Regions from separate parts of the Homo sapiens genome. Here region 2 is linked to region 1. The links are contacts of gene promoters, found by promoter capture Hi-C in blood cells and fetal thymus (Javierre and others, 2016). All regions are on one chromosome and are shown on one strand. Each heading gives the region's core, a stretch centred on a gene start or on the middle of the fragment in contact. The rest is flanking DNA. Distances are from core to core; before and after follow the strand shown.

Region 1 (7,036 bases), core at 389-2,888:
GGGAAAGGCTTTCAGTCTTTAACCATTGAGTGTGCTGTTATCTGTGGGTTTATCATAAATGTCCATAATCATGTTGGAGTAATTCCATCCTATTCCTATTTTTCTGATTGTTTATTATCATGAAATGCTGTTGGTTCTTGTCAAATGCTTTCTCTGCATCATTTGAGATAATTATGTAGGGTTTTCCCTTCATTCTTTTATTGTGCTCTATACACTGATCGATTTATGTTTCACTGAGGGGAACTACCTGGGATAAATCCCACTTGTTCCTAGTGTATAATCCTTTTAATATTTTAGTATTTGTTGAAGATCTCTGCATTTGTATTCTTAAGGAAGAGTGGTCTATAATTTCTTTTCTTGTCATTTCTTTGTCTAGTTCTGGTATCAGTATAATGCTGGCCCCATAAAATGAGCTATGAAATACTGTTACCTCTTCTATTTTTTGGAAGAGCTTGAGAAGAATTGGTGTTAATTCTTCCTTAATGGTTTGGTAGAATTCACAAATGAAGCCCTGTAGTCTTTCACTTTTCTTTGTTCAAAGGGAGATTTTTGATTATTGATTCAATCGTTTTATTTGTTATAAGTCTATGCAGAATTTTTATTTTTTTCTTGAGTCAGTTTTGGTAATTTGTGTATTTCTAGTTTTCCATTTCATATAGGCTATATAATTTATTGGCATTTGTATTCTCTTACAAGCTTTATTTCTGTAAGGTCGGTAATCATGTTCTCACTTTCATCTATGTGTGTCCTTTTCTTGGTAGTCATTCAAACTCAAAGTTTGTTAATTTTGTTGATAACTAACATTTTGTTTCTTTCAATTGACTTTCTATTTTTTCTATTCTCTATTTCACGTCCTCTGCTCTAATCTTAATCTCCTTCCTTCTACCAGCTTCAGATTTAGTTTGTGCTTCTTTTGCTAGGCCCATAAGTCATAAAGTGAAGTTATTGATTTGAGATGTTTCTTGTTTTTAAAACATAGGCATTTATGGCTATAAATTTCCCTCTTAGCACTGCTTTTGCTGCACTCCATAAGTTTTATTGTGTTATGTTTTTGTTTTTATTTCAAAATATTTTTTAGTATATCTTGTGATCTCTCCTTCAAGTTGTAGCATGTTCTTTCCAAATACGGACAGTGAACCTAAATAGAAGAAGTGTAGGCCAGGCACAGTGGCTCATGCCTGTAATTTCAGCACTTTGGGAGGCCAAGGCAGGCGGATCACGAGGTCAGGAGATTGAGACTATCTTGGTCAACATAGTGAAACCCTGTCTCTACTAAAAAAAAAAATACAAAAAACAAATTAGCTGGGCATGGTGGTGCATGCCTATAATCCCAGCTACTTGAGAAGCTGAGGCAGGAAAATCACTTGAACCCGGGAGTCAGAGGTTGCAGTGAGCTGAGATCGCGCCACTGCACTCCAGCCTGGCAACAGAGCGATACTCCGTCCCAAAAAAGAAAGAAAAAAATAAATGTAATGCTTTCGTGAAATATTAAAGGAAGTCCTTTAGGCTTGTGAGACTAGTCTCCATCCCATAGCCCAGCAAATAATATTCTGAAGATTCACATCTGGAGGTGTGAAGCAGATAGACAGAGTTAGAAAACACAATCCAGGTTTTCAGCGTCACCAGAGGGATGTCACCTCCAATGGAGTAGTACCTGCCTGCTACCTAGAGGTTTTTGGGGCCCAGTTCAGATCCGACACAGCAGTGTTCCTGTCAGTACTGGTGAAAGATGAAGGATGGAGGCACTGGGGATGTGGAAGCCGTGGATGCCAGCTGTCCTGCTCGACCACTTTCTCTGGAGGCAGGAGCACGCCCTCAATATTCCATGCACACAAGGATCACCACTGGCCACGCCACTGCTCACGTGCAAAGTCTTTGAAGAAATTACATTTTTTAAATTAATTTTTGTTTTTGTTCGTTTGTTTCCCCCACAGGAGGGGAAAGGAGGAGAGGGAAAGAGAAGAGAAACAGAAGTTGAACATTTCTTTCCACTCACTTCCAAGCCCTGAGGAGCTCCACAACCTAGAACCAGGAAGCGCCTACAGAATCCGTGATATTTCTGCTACGAGGTGGAGTGGAACAAGAAAATAAGAAAATTGTGGCCAAAGACAGAAATAGGAATCATGATTTCTCCATAGGGGAAGGATTCCGTTGTAGTTTTTCCTAGGCTGAGTGAAAAGCAGGAGTAGAGAGTTGGTGCTTGGGTCACTACATTTATTCATAGATTTACTCTTTCAGTATTTTATTACGTGCATGCTGGTAAGTATGTTACAAATATGACCTCATACAAAGGTAAAACTTTCATACCAGCCGTATGAAGTAGGGATTATCCACTGCATTTTACGCAGCAGCAAGCCCAGGTTTAGAAAGGTTTCCGAAGTTCTCTGCTGTAGACACTGGGTAATTAACAGTAGATAAGACACAGTCCCTGTTCTCAAGGGAGTCACCATCTGGTAGAGGGAAGACAGATGTATCAACACATTAAATGCTGTAAGTATTGGACAGAGGAAAAAGAGAAAAGTGTTGTGAGGGAAAAGGAAAATGGGCCTAGAGGAGTGCAATTTTTTGTAACAAGCTTTGTGGAACTATTAATTTGATAATTTGATAGGCGCTTCTATTATGCTGCCTCTGAACCTTTGCCTCCTGCTCCTCTAACCACTGGGATTGCCAGCCTATTTCCAATATGCCCTCTTTCTGCCTGGCAAACATCTTGTCTTTTCTAAACTCAGCCCAGGGACATGACATCTGTAATGTGTTTCTGTGTGACTCCCAGGCTTCTGCCTTCTTAACCTCTCACCTTCCAGCTCATTTGAGTGAATCTTTGTCCAAGAATTGAGAGAAACTTTATAGGTAAAGCATGCACATGTTGTCTGATTTAATCTAAAATAGAAATAAGAAAACAAAAAATAATACTGCAACTAGGGACACATTTAGTCACTCCCAGTTCATGAGACAAGGAATAGTAAAGTTCATTCCTACCATAGCAAAAGTCAGGATTTAAATGTAAATTAATTTTTTTAATTAAAAAATTTTAAATTAGGCCAGGCGTGGTGGCTCACACCTGTAATCCCAGCACTTTGGGAGGCTGAAGTGGGCAGATCACGAGGTCAGGAGTTCGAGACCATCCTGGCCAACATGGTGAAACCCCATCTCTACTAAAAATACAAAAATTAGCTGGATGTTGTGGCGGGCACCTGTAATCCCAGCTACTCGGGAGGCTGAGGCAGAAGAATCGTTGGAACCCAGGTGGCGGAGGTTGCAGTGAGCCAAGACCATGCTATTGCACTCCAGCCTGGGCAACAAGAGCGAAACTCTGTCTCAAAAAAAAATTTTTTTTAATTAATTTTAACTAAATTAAATTTTTTAGAGGCAGACTCTCAGTCTGTTGTCCAGGCTGGAATGCAGTGGCGCAGTCATAGCTCACTGCAACCTCAAATTCCTGGGCTGAAGCAATCCTCCCACCTCAGCCTCCCAAGTAGCTAGGACTACAGGTATGCCACCATGTCTGGCTAATTTTTAAAGAAATTTTTTTGTAGAGATGGGATCTCACTGTGTTGCCCAGGCTGGTCTCGAACTCCTGGCTTCAAGTAATCCTCCTGCCTTGTCCTTCCAAAGCACTGGGATTCTAAGTGTGAGCCACCACACCTGGCCTGGAGTATCTAATATTGTATAACATAATAATAGTAATCATAGGTGATGTCATTTATTGAGTACTTAGTATGTGCTGAGTGCTCTGCTAAGTCTGGTTTAGACATTATCTCAGTTAACCTTCCTGGTGTCCCCCAAGATGGATATTGTTACCTCCATTTTCTCCTAGGAAGAAACGGACTTGGGGGGGATGATTAGGTATTTGCTAGATGTCTATTCTGTACCATCCCTGCACTAGGCCCTGTGAATACAGAGATAAATAAAGACACAGTCCCTGACCTTATGGGGCTCACAATCTGGAAAAAAGAGAAGGATGTGTAAACCAATAAATGCATTAATGCTCCGATAGAAAGCTGCGTGGAATCTGAGAAAAACCAAGGCAGATGAAGCCAGTGTGCCAGCAGCCCTTTGGGACAGAAGATATTTCACTGAGGGGCACAGGCACAGGGGTTGGTTTGCCAAAGGACCAGCAGCTGGGCTGAAGGGCATAGGTTTTATCATTTGAGCTTCAAGGCACAAGGCAGTGACCTGGTCTGTGCTAGAACAGTTCACCTGTCACAGCCAAGAGGAAAGAAATGGTGCAGATGGCTGTTTGCCCAAACCAAGCAGCAGATAAGCAGATCTTGGGAAATGTAGCTCATCCCTCAGACACACATCTTTACTTGAATCCTGAGTAGAACTCTAGGTGACCCCCTTGGAGGCTATTACTCATGTAAAAGGGGATGAAGGAAAGGTAAGAGAGAAGGAGCTTAGGCTTTGGCATGAGAAAATTTGGGCCTTTGAATCCCTGCCCTGCTTCACCATATGGATGTGTGACTCAGCATAGTAGCTGTGCATCTTGACCTTTCTGAACGTGCTTTCTTGACTGCAGAAAGGGAATGCCTGCCTAGGAGGGTTGTTGTGAGGATTAGATGAGATAATTTGTGCAAAGTTCTTGGCACAGTACTTTTCACTTTGTAATTGCCACAAGCTGTTATTGTTGTTATTGCTGTTATAAAGTGTACTCTTCTTGGCCGGGTGCAGTGGCTCATGCCTGTAATCCCAGCACTTTGGGAGGCCAAGGCAGGTGGATCGCCTGAGGTCAGGAGTTTGAGACCAGCCTGGCCAACGTGGCGAAACTCCATCTCTACTAAAAATACAAAAAAATTAGCCGGGCACAATGGCAGGTGCCTGTAACCTCAGCTACTCAGGAGGCTGAGGCAGGAGAATCACTTGAACCCGGGAGGTGGAGGATGCAGTGAGCTGAGATTGCACCATTGCACTCCAGCCTGGGTAACAAGAGTGAAACTCCATCTCAAAAAAAAAAAAAAAAAAGTATAGTCTTCTGAAACCAGAACGTGTGAGCACCTGCCGAGTACAAGGCACCATGTGGGGCAGATAAGCAGAACACTCTCTCACCTTCCCTTTACTACCCCAGCCACTGTCAACTCTTCATTTGCAGTTTCTCTAGGAACCACACTTTCCTATTTCTGGATCTTTTGTCTGTTGCTGCTTCTGGACCTGAAAATGCCTTCTCCTCCCTCCTCTTTGTTAACTGCCAACATCACTAATTCCTGCTCTTCCTCCAGGACCCCGCTTAGACGTCCCTCATCTTGGGAGCCTTCCCTAATATACCAGGAGCAAGGTAGGCACAAGTGCTCCACTGCATTATGCTCCAACAGCATTCTGTGCCATCCCATTATGGCAGCAGTTACCATAGTAGATTGGAATTGCCTGTCTACCTATCCACCGCTACTATTAGCCCCCATACAGCAAGAAGGTCTCCTTATTTTCTAAGCCCAGGACAAACTGCATTTCTGTCTGTCAGGACCATTTGTTGCACAGTCCAAGATCATCCCTGCATGGACCCTTTCCAGAAATGACTGAGGACTCAGAGTTGTAGCCTCTCAGGATGTTAAATATGAAGAAACCTGTCTCTGCCCTTTGTAAACATTAGAAGGGAAAATTATGGGGAAGAATTATTTGCCCTTTATAAGGGAAGCGGGGTAGAGCATCAAAGGGAACTAACATTTAAAAAGCATTTGCTGTAATGTGGGATAAAGCAAATGAGTAATTGTATGATATTCTAATTCTGTCATTCCCAGTGTTGCTGAAAACCCATACTCTCAGCATGGAAGAAGATAAATTCAGATGTTAAACTAGAAGAGATGAAGTTAAAATCCTATAGTCCTGATTTTGAATTGCTTATGAATTGATGATGAAATGTATGTTTTAGAACATACAGTTTCCTGAAGAACAGGAGGGATAGCTGGAGAGGGGATAGGAGGGAAGCTGGAAGGGGTTACAAAGAGGCCCAAATAAACTTTTGGGGGTGACAGATATGTCTACTATCTTGATTGTGGTGAATGGCTCATGGGTGTATACACACCTAAATACACTTTAAATGTGTGCAGTTTCTCATATGTCAATTATACTTCGATAAAGCTTTGTTAAAAAACGAACAGGCCAGGCATGGTGGCTCACACCTGTAATCCCAGCACTTTGGAAGGCCAAGGCAAGAGGATTGCTTGAGGCCAGGAGTTTGAGACCAAACAGGACAACATAGTGAGACCTTGCCTCTACAAAAACATAAAAAATTAGTCCGATGTGGTAGTGCATACCTATAGTCCTAGCTACTAGGGAGGCTGAGGTGGGAGGATCGCTTGAGCCTGGGAGCTTAAGGCTGCCATGAGCTGTGATTGTGCTACTAGACTCAGCCTGGATGATAGAGCAAGACTGTGTCTGGGAAAAAAAAAAAAAAAAACCTGAGCCAGGTGCGGTGGCTAACGCCTGTAATCTCAGCACTTTGGGAGGCCGAGGCGGGTGGATTGCCTGAGACCAGTAGTTTGAGACCAGCCTGACCAACATGGCGAAATCCTGTCTCTACTCAAAATGCAAAATTAGCCGGGTGTGGTGGCAGCTGCCTGTAGTCCCGGGTACTCGCAAGGCTGAGGCAGGAGAATTGCTTGAACCCAGGAAGCGGAGGTTACAGTGAGCCAAGATCATGCCACTGCACTCCAGCCTGGACAACACAGTGAGACTCTGTCTCAAAAATATGTGTATATATTTCCTAAAACTCTGTCCACTGAAATGACCTAGAAATAAAGACTGACCCGGCAGCAGTGACCCAGACTGTGGTCTTGAAATACTATTTGCCCTAAAAGGATCTAGGGATCCTTGAAGAAATGATCAGTTCCAGGTCTAGGGCAGGAAAATCATGAGACCTGAAACATCTTATCACACTTAACACCAAGGAAGCTATCAAAGACAAGGATCCTGTCAGAAAGACTTGGGAGCAAACTTAGAGACAATCCCATTAGCTAAAAGAGAGGACCATTTGGGCATTAATAATAATTGCCATATTTGAAGCACGTCAAACGTGTTCTCACCTGTAAGTTCATATTGTGAC
Region 2 (6,536 bases), core at 2,772-5,271, 310 kb after region 1:
ACTTTGGGAGGCCAAGGTGGGCGGATTGCCGGAGCTCAGGAGTTTGAGAACACCCTGGGCAACATGGTGAAACTCTGTCTCCATTAAAAAAATACAAAAAAAAATTAGCTGGTCGTAGTGGCGCGTGCCTATAATCCCATCTACTCGGGCGGCTGAGGCAGGAGAATCGCTTGAACCTGGGAGGTTGCAGGGAGTCGAGATCGCGCCACTGCACTCCAGCCTGGGCAACAGAGCAAGACTCTGTCAATAAATAAATAAATAAATAGAAAATTAGCTGAGCGTGATGGTATGCCCATGTAGTCCTAGCTACTTGGGAGGCAGAGGTGGAGGATTGCTTGAGCCCAGGAGTTTGAGGCTGCAATGAACTATGATCAAACCATTGCACCCCAGCCTGGGTGAGAGAGCAAAACCCAAGAAAGAAAGGATGGGTAGTTGCATGGAGGAGGGGTGAGAGGGAAGATAGCAAGGTAGGTGTTTATCTTCATTTTGGAAAACCTGAGTAAAGGTCTTGAGAGGGCTTTTTTCCTCCCACAGGGAGCACCAACTAGGGCCCCCAATACCACCTGCTGACCTGCCATATCACTCAGACCAGGTGACTTTCTGTCTTTGAGCCCCTTCCGGGCAACCAAGCCTAAAAATACCCACCACCTGCCTCTGTCCCCTGCCAGCCCGGGGCCTCTGTAAGTTGAGACCCAAGAGTGCCCCTAAGCAGAAACCAAGACCCTGAACTGAAAGCCCTGGAGGGGAAGTGTAAGTCAGGTTGTGTCTGGTCTGTAAGTGTCTTGTACTACACATTGCAGATATGGTGGGTAATTGGGACAAAGACTTCCTCCTGAAGGGGTTAGTGTGTAGGGAGGGAGAGCTGGGAAGTCATAAACAAGTTACAATGCAATTGATAAGCCTTACTCTTGTTAGGACAGACCCAGGCATGTCCTACCTGGGGCTGGGGAGGAATCGTTCTATAGGATTTTGCTATTACCAGATCTCTGGTCATGTTATACCTACTTTTGCGGGGGCATGTTCTCTATGCCAGACCCTGTACTAAGTACTGGGATTACATCAGAAAACAAAAAGGATACTTGGGAGGCACAGGCAAGAGTATCGCTTGAACCTGGGAGGTTGAGGCTGCAGTGAGCCAAAATTGCACCACTGCATTCCAGCTTGGGTGACAGAGTGAGACTCCATCTCAAACAACAACAACAACAAAAAAGCCAAAAAGGATGAAAATCTTTCTCTTCAGAATTTATTGGCCAGGCACACAGTGGCTCACACCCGTAATCTCAGCACTTTGAGTGGTCTAGACGGGCAATTGCTTTGAGCCCAGGAGTTTGAGGCCAGCCCTGGCAACATAGCGAAACCCCATCTCTACAAAAAAAAAAAAAAAAAAAAAAAAATACAAAAATTAGCCTGGTATGGTGGCACATGCCTATAATCCCAGCTAACCAGGAGGCTGAGGTGGGAGGATCACTTGAGCCTGAGTGGCGGATGTTGCAGTGACCTGAGATTGTGCCACTGCACTCCAGCCTGGGTGACAGAGACTGTCTCAAAAACAAAAAAACAAAACCGAAAAATTTTGTGTTCTACTAGAAGAAGACACACAGGGAAACAGGCAAACTATATAATATGATAGAAATGAAGTGACAGGGTGGCTCACGCCTGTAATCCCAGCACTTTGGGAGGCTGAGGCAGGCGGATCACGAAGTCAGGAGATCGAGACCATCCTGGCTAACGCGGTGAAACCCCGTCTCTACTAAAAATACAAAAAATTAGCCAGGCATGGTGGTGGGCGCCTGTAGTCCCAGCTACTCTGAGGCTGAGGCAGGAGAATGGCATGAACCCGGGAGGCGGAGCTTGCAGTGAGCCGAGATAGCACCATTGCACTCCAGCCTGGGTGACAGAGCGAGACTCCGCTTCAAAAAAAAAAAGAAAGAAAGAAAGAAATGAAGTGACAGGGAAAGTAGGGCACGGTAAAGGGAAATACAGAGTGCATGTGAGGGGTCTGGTAGTTTTACTAGGGGTGCTCACAGCAGGCCTCACTAAGTGGAGGACATTCGAGCAAACCCTTGAAGAAGGTGATGGAGGAGCCATTCAGGTATCTGGGGAAACAGCGATCGCAGCAGAGGGAACAGCTAGTGCAGGGGGCTCGGGGCTGAGTGTGCTCAGCTTGTTCTAGGAACAGCAAGGGATCAGTGTGGAGGGAAAGGGTAAGAGATGAATGAGATCAGGAATCCCCAGGAGAGTAGAATGTCAGATCAAGTGTTTGTAAGGACTTGTAAGGCTTTTACTTAGAGCGAAACAGTGAGCCAATGGAGGGTTTTGAGCAAAAAAGTACCATGTTTTGACTTCGATTTTATTTTATTTTTTGAGACAGATTCTCATTTTGTCACCCAGGTTGGTGTGCATTGGCACGATCTTGGCTCACCACAACCCAACCTCCGCCTCCCGGGTTCAAGCAATTCTCATGCCTCCAGAGTAGCTGGGACTACAGGCATGTACCACCACACCCAGCTAATTTTTGTATTTTTAGCAGAGACAAGGTTTCACCATATTGGCCAGGCTGGTCTGTAACTCCTGGCCTTAAATGAGCCACCCGACCTCACAAAGTGCTGGGATTACAGGCGTGAGCCACCGTGCCCGGCAGATTTTAAAAGAATCTTGGCTGGGCGTGGTGGCTCACGCCTGTAATCCCAGCACTTTGGGAGGCCGAGGCAGGCGGATCACAAGGTCAGGAGATCAAGACCATCCTGGCTAACGCGGTGAAACCCCGTCTCTACTAAAAATACAAAAAATTAGCTGGGCATGGTGGCGGGCGCCTGTAGTCCCAGCTACTCGGGAGGCTGAGGCAGGAGAATGGCGTGAACCCGGGAGGCGGAGCTTGCAGTGAGCCGAGATCGCGCCACTGCACTCCAGCCTGGGCAACTTTGAGACAAAGAGCGAGACTTTGTCTCAAAAAGAAAAAAGAGAAAAAAAAAAAAGGATCTCCCTCACCCCTGAATTGATAGAATGGATCAGAGGGCAAGGCTGGAACAAGGGAGAGGGGTTAGCAGAACTCTGCAATAATCCTGTGCAAATACTGGACCAGGGTGGTAGCACTGGAGGAGGAGTGGCAGACATCTGAGTCTAGATCTATTTTGCAGGTAGAGCCAACAGGATCTCCTGCCTGCCTTATTGGGTAGCGGGCAGAAGGGGGGCATTCATTCACAGCTGACTCCGAGTTCTGGCCTGGGGACTGGAAGGATGGAATTGTCAACAGCTGATGGAGGCAAAGCTGAGAGGGAGCAGGTTTTTGTGTGTGGAAGTGGGGTTGGCTCAGCTCAGACACGCTGACTTTGAGATGCCTGCTGGAGCTCCAAGGAAGAGGTGTTGGGTAGACAGTTCAGGCGAGGAGTCTGGAGACATAAATACATTTGGGGATCTTGAGCACATCAATGCCAGAACTTAATTGCATTTTATCTTGTTCAGTTAACCTAGGTGATGTCTGGACCGGCAAACAGAAATGGACTAGGCGGCTTGAACCCTATCTGAAGACTTTTGCTAGTTCGGCAGCCTAGAGCCAGACGGGGCAAGAAAGAATCGCTGCTAAGCGGAGTGGGAAAAAAAGGCCTCTTTCAGTGCTTTGCCATTTCATCTGGCCTAATTGCACACAACACTCGGTCCACGTTCATTCCACAATTCCACACGCATCCTTCACTCAACAAATAGCCATTGTATTTCGTTTCATCTTCAAAACAGGCTCAAATGGAGGAAATTAGGGTTAAAAGAAGTGAAGCACCAGCGAGGGTCAGGGGCAGAGATCGCAGCCCAGAAAGCTCTCGCGGTTGGGGGCCGGTCGTAGCTGGTTTTGTGAGTGGCAAGAGAACCCGGGTCGCGCCCCAACCCGCGGGGCGGCGGGCTGGGGTTCGGGGCGGCGGGCTGGGGTTCGGGGCGCGGCCCCTTTAAGGCCCAGGCAGTGATCTCAGCCGCGTCCGCCGCCCCGCCCTCCCCGGCGGCGAGCCCAGAGCGCATGCGCGCCGCGGCTGCACTCCACTGGGCCCGGGACGCGCCGGCGGCGGCGGAGACTCCGGGGCTGCGGCGCCGCCCGCCCCGCCCGCAGAGTCCGGCTGCCGCGCATCGTCCGCAGACGCCGCCACCGCCATGGGCTCCTGAGGTATCCCGCCTGGCCGGCCTCGCCCGGGAGCCCCAAGGGGGAGCTGCGACTCCCGAGCGCGGGGGGCTGCTTGTTTCGGAGAGGCCCGCGCGAGGGACGCCCGGCTTCGGCCGCCGGCTCCCGGGCGGGGAGGGCACTACGGAGGCCGGTGCGGCCGCGGAGGGAGGGGGCATCCGTCTCCCCACCCGTGCCTCCTCTCCGCCCCGCGAGGTCGCCCGTGGGTGTGCCCGCTCCCTTTCCACGCCAACGTGGCGGGGGCAGCTCCTGGAGTGTAATCGGACCTGTCCGGGGGGCGGCCCCGGGAGAGGGAGGCGGATGGACCAAGGCGCTTTGCAAGAGGGATTGTGTGCTCCCGGGTGGGTGTGCTGGCGACTGGCACGGCCGAGTGAGTGGGGGAGGCGTCCGTGCCCTGTGCGGGTGGCAGTGACCTGGGAGGGTGGTCGGCGGGGGGCTTTCGGGGCTGCGTCGTGAGTGGAGGGTGTACACGCCCGCCACACAGGTCCGCAGGTTTGGAAGGGGATCGACTGGGACCTGGGGCTCGAAAGATGTTTGCCCCCAAAGGGACCGTGGAGACTGGTTTTGGGTGTCTGTATCCTTCCCGTGAATTGTACATTTCCTCCTGGGCACACCCTTGGTACCTCGCTTGGATCCACTTACCTCCAGTGCTGGGTGGCTCCAGGCCAAGGCAAGGCAGTTATGCTGGGGGTTGGGCATGGATTCCCAATACATATCCCCTCTGGAGGTGTTGTATAAGGCCAGACGTTTTACTCCTCCCTCCTTTCCAGGGCATTTTGGGGCAAAGCAGGTATTTGCATGCCTGATACCTGTGGTGAGGTGAAGGCCATGTATTATTTATCTGACTGCTGGTGCTTTTGTAAGGAAAGAAGCAGCAATCTGTGCCCTGGAGGCCCTGCGCTGCAGAGTCAGCCAGGCAAACAAGCTCACCTGCACCTGCAGAGGCAGCGCAGGTCTCAGAGGTGTGACTTCGTTGACAGGTTATGCCTACAGTGTCCCTTTCCATCTACCTATTTAGCTTCCTTGGTAGAACCCCTAGGCTCTGCACCTCTGAACCTTGCCTAGGGTGCTGTGCGTATCAGAGTTGGGACCTGGGACGCTGGGGTGGGAGAGCCCCAGCAGCCAGGTATGTGTGCCCACCTGGACAGAAACATTTGATGCCCAAGCCATCAAGGAGCTCTCAAGCATGGGGGAATCAGATTTGGAAACAGGTGATCACGATGATGTGAAAAATACCAAACAAAGGAGTAGAAGGAGTACAGAGGCAGGTTCAGTTCCCGGGGAGGGGGATCGTGGCCGCAGGAAAGACTCCCTCATAAGGAGACGGTTGAGCTGAAGCCTGAAGGATGACTGACGTTCATCTGAGGCTTTTCTGCTTTCCACATATATTTTCCTGTGTAATTTGCACAGCAGCTGTGTGAGTAAGGAACAGTTGTCCCTATTTGCAGATGCGGTAAACTGAGGCCCAGAGGGAATTCATGACGTTCTTCTCCACGATACGTGGCAAGCCTGGATGGAATCATCCTTTAACCAGGACCTCTCTCTTGCTGCCAGATCTTGTCTTGCAACTTACTGAGCATCTACTATGTGCCAGGCACTATGCTGGGGCATAGCGGTCTGATGATCAATGGGACCTGGTGCCTGCCTTCTAGGGGCTCCCAGTGCTGGGAAGATGGACACTGATTTAGTGACCCCAATCTGGATACGAGGCTCCAATAGCTAATGTGGGTGGAGAAGGCGCTGTGAATTCCCCCAAAGCATTTGTGCAGTCGTTGGGATTCTGGATGTCTTATTTGTTGCACCCACGGTGGTGGTGGGTTATTCAAAGAGCCCCTTCTGAATTTCTCCAACCAAGTAGAAAGAAGAGCTTCGAGGCAGAAGGGTGAATGAGCCACTTGTCCTAGTTCTTTCCTATTGGCCGAGTTCTGTGAGCAGGGGCTTCTGTCCGGAGGCTGTTTGCTCCCTCTCTGTCTTAGAGGTTTTGCTCCTGGTCTCTGGCTGGCCTGCCCAGTCCCTCACCCTGAGAAGGGCTCAGAGCTATTTCCAGTCCCTGCTGTGCTCATTTTCTCTCTGTAAATTCCCTGGAGTGGAAACAGCCCCGGCAAGGCAGGGTACAGCTTTTTATTGTTTTGAAAACGAGTCACAGCTCTGGGCCTTTAGACTGGGGATCTGGTGTGGGAGTTCTGGAAGGCCAATAGCTGGGCCCCTGGGAGAGCTCTGTGTGGGGTCTGCACCAGGCCCTGCAGCCCCGGGTAGTAAGCACTCACCGAAGACCATGCTGCCCTGCACTGTGCTGGGGCAGCCCTCTAAAAGGTGGTTGGCAGAGGGAGCCCAATGTGTAACAAATATGTGCAAGACAGTGCCCTACTTGTGG

The links. Contacts are between HindIII fragments. The CHiCAGO score rates a contact against its expected background, and 5 or more counts as called.
Region 2: the fragment with the promoter of TMEM184B here is called in contact with a fragment that was not itself captured in region 1 in 3 of 17 cell types (M2 macrophages, M1 macrophages and M0 macrophages); the score reaches 5.8 in M2 macrophages.

Annotation. Positions count from the first base shown.
Region 1 is chr22:38,581,098-38,588,133 of GRCh38, reverse strand. It overlaps FAM227A (family with sequence similarity 227 member A), which reads left to right. Exons shown (of 17, transcript NM_001013647.2): 17 at 1,935-7,036. The coding sequence ends at 2,009. Among named protein-coding and RNA genes, the nearest start is that of DMC1, 14 kb to the right of the region's middle. RefSeq lists a silencer at 2,323-2,523 and an enhancer at 5,068-5,117. The HindIII fragment of the contact is 1,879 bases long and covers 699-2,577 here.
Region 2 is chr22:38,270,495-38,277,030 of GRCh38, reverse strand. It overlaps TMEM184B (transmembrane protein 184B), which reads left to right and starts at 4,021. Exons shown (of 9, transcript NM_012264.5): 1 at 4,021-4,147. RefSeq lists a silencer at 3,869-4,498 and an enhancer at 4,561-5,270. The HindIII fragment of the contact is 13,147 bases long and covers 1-6,536 here.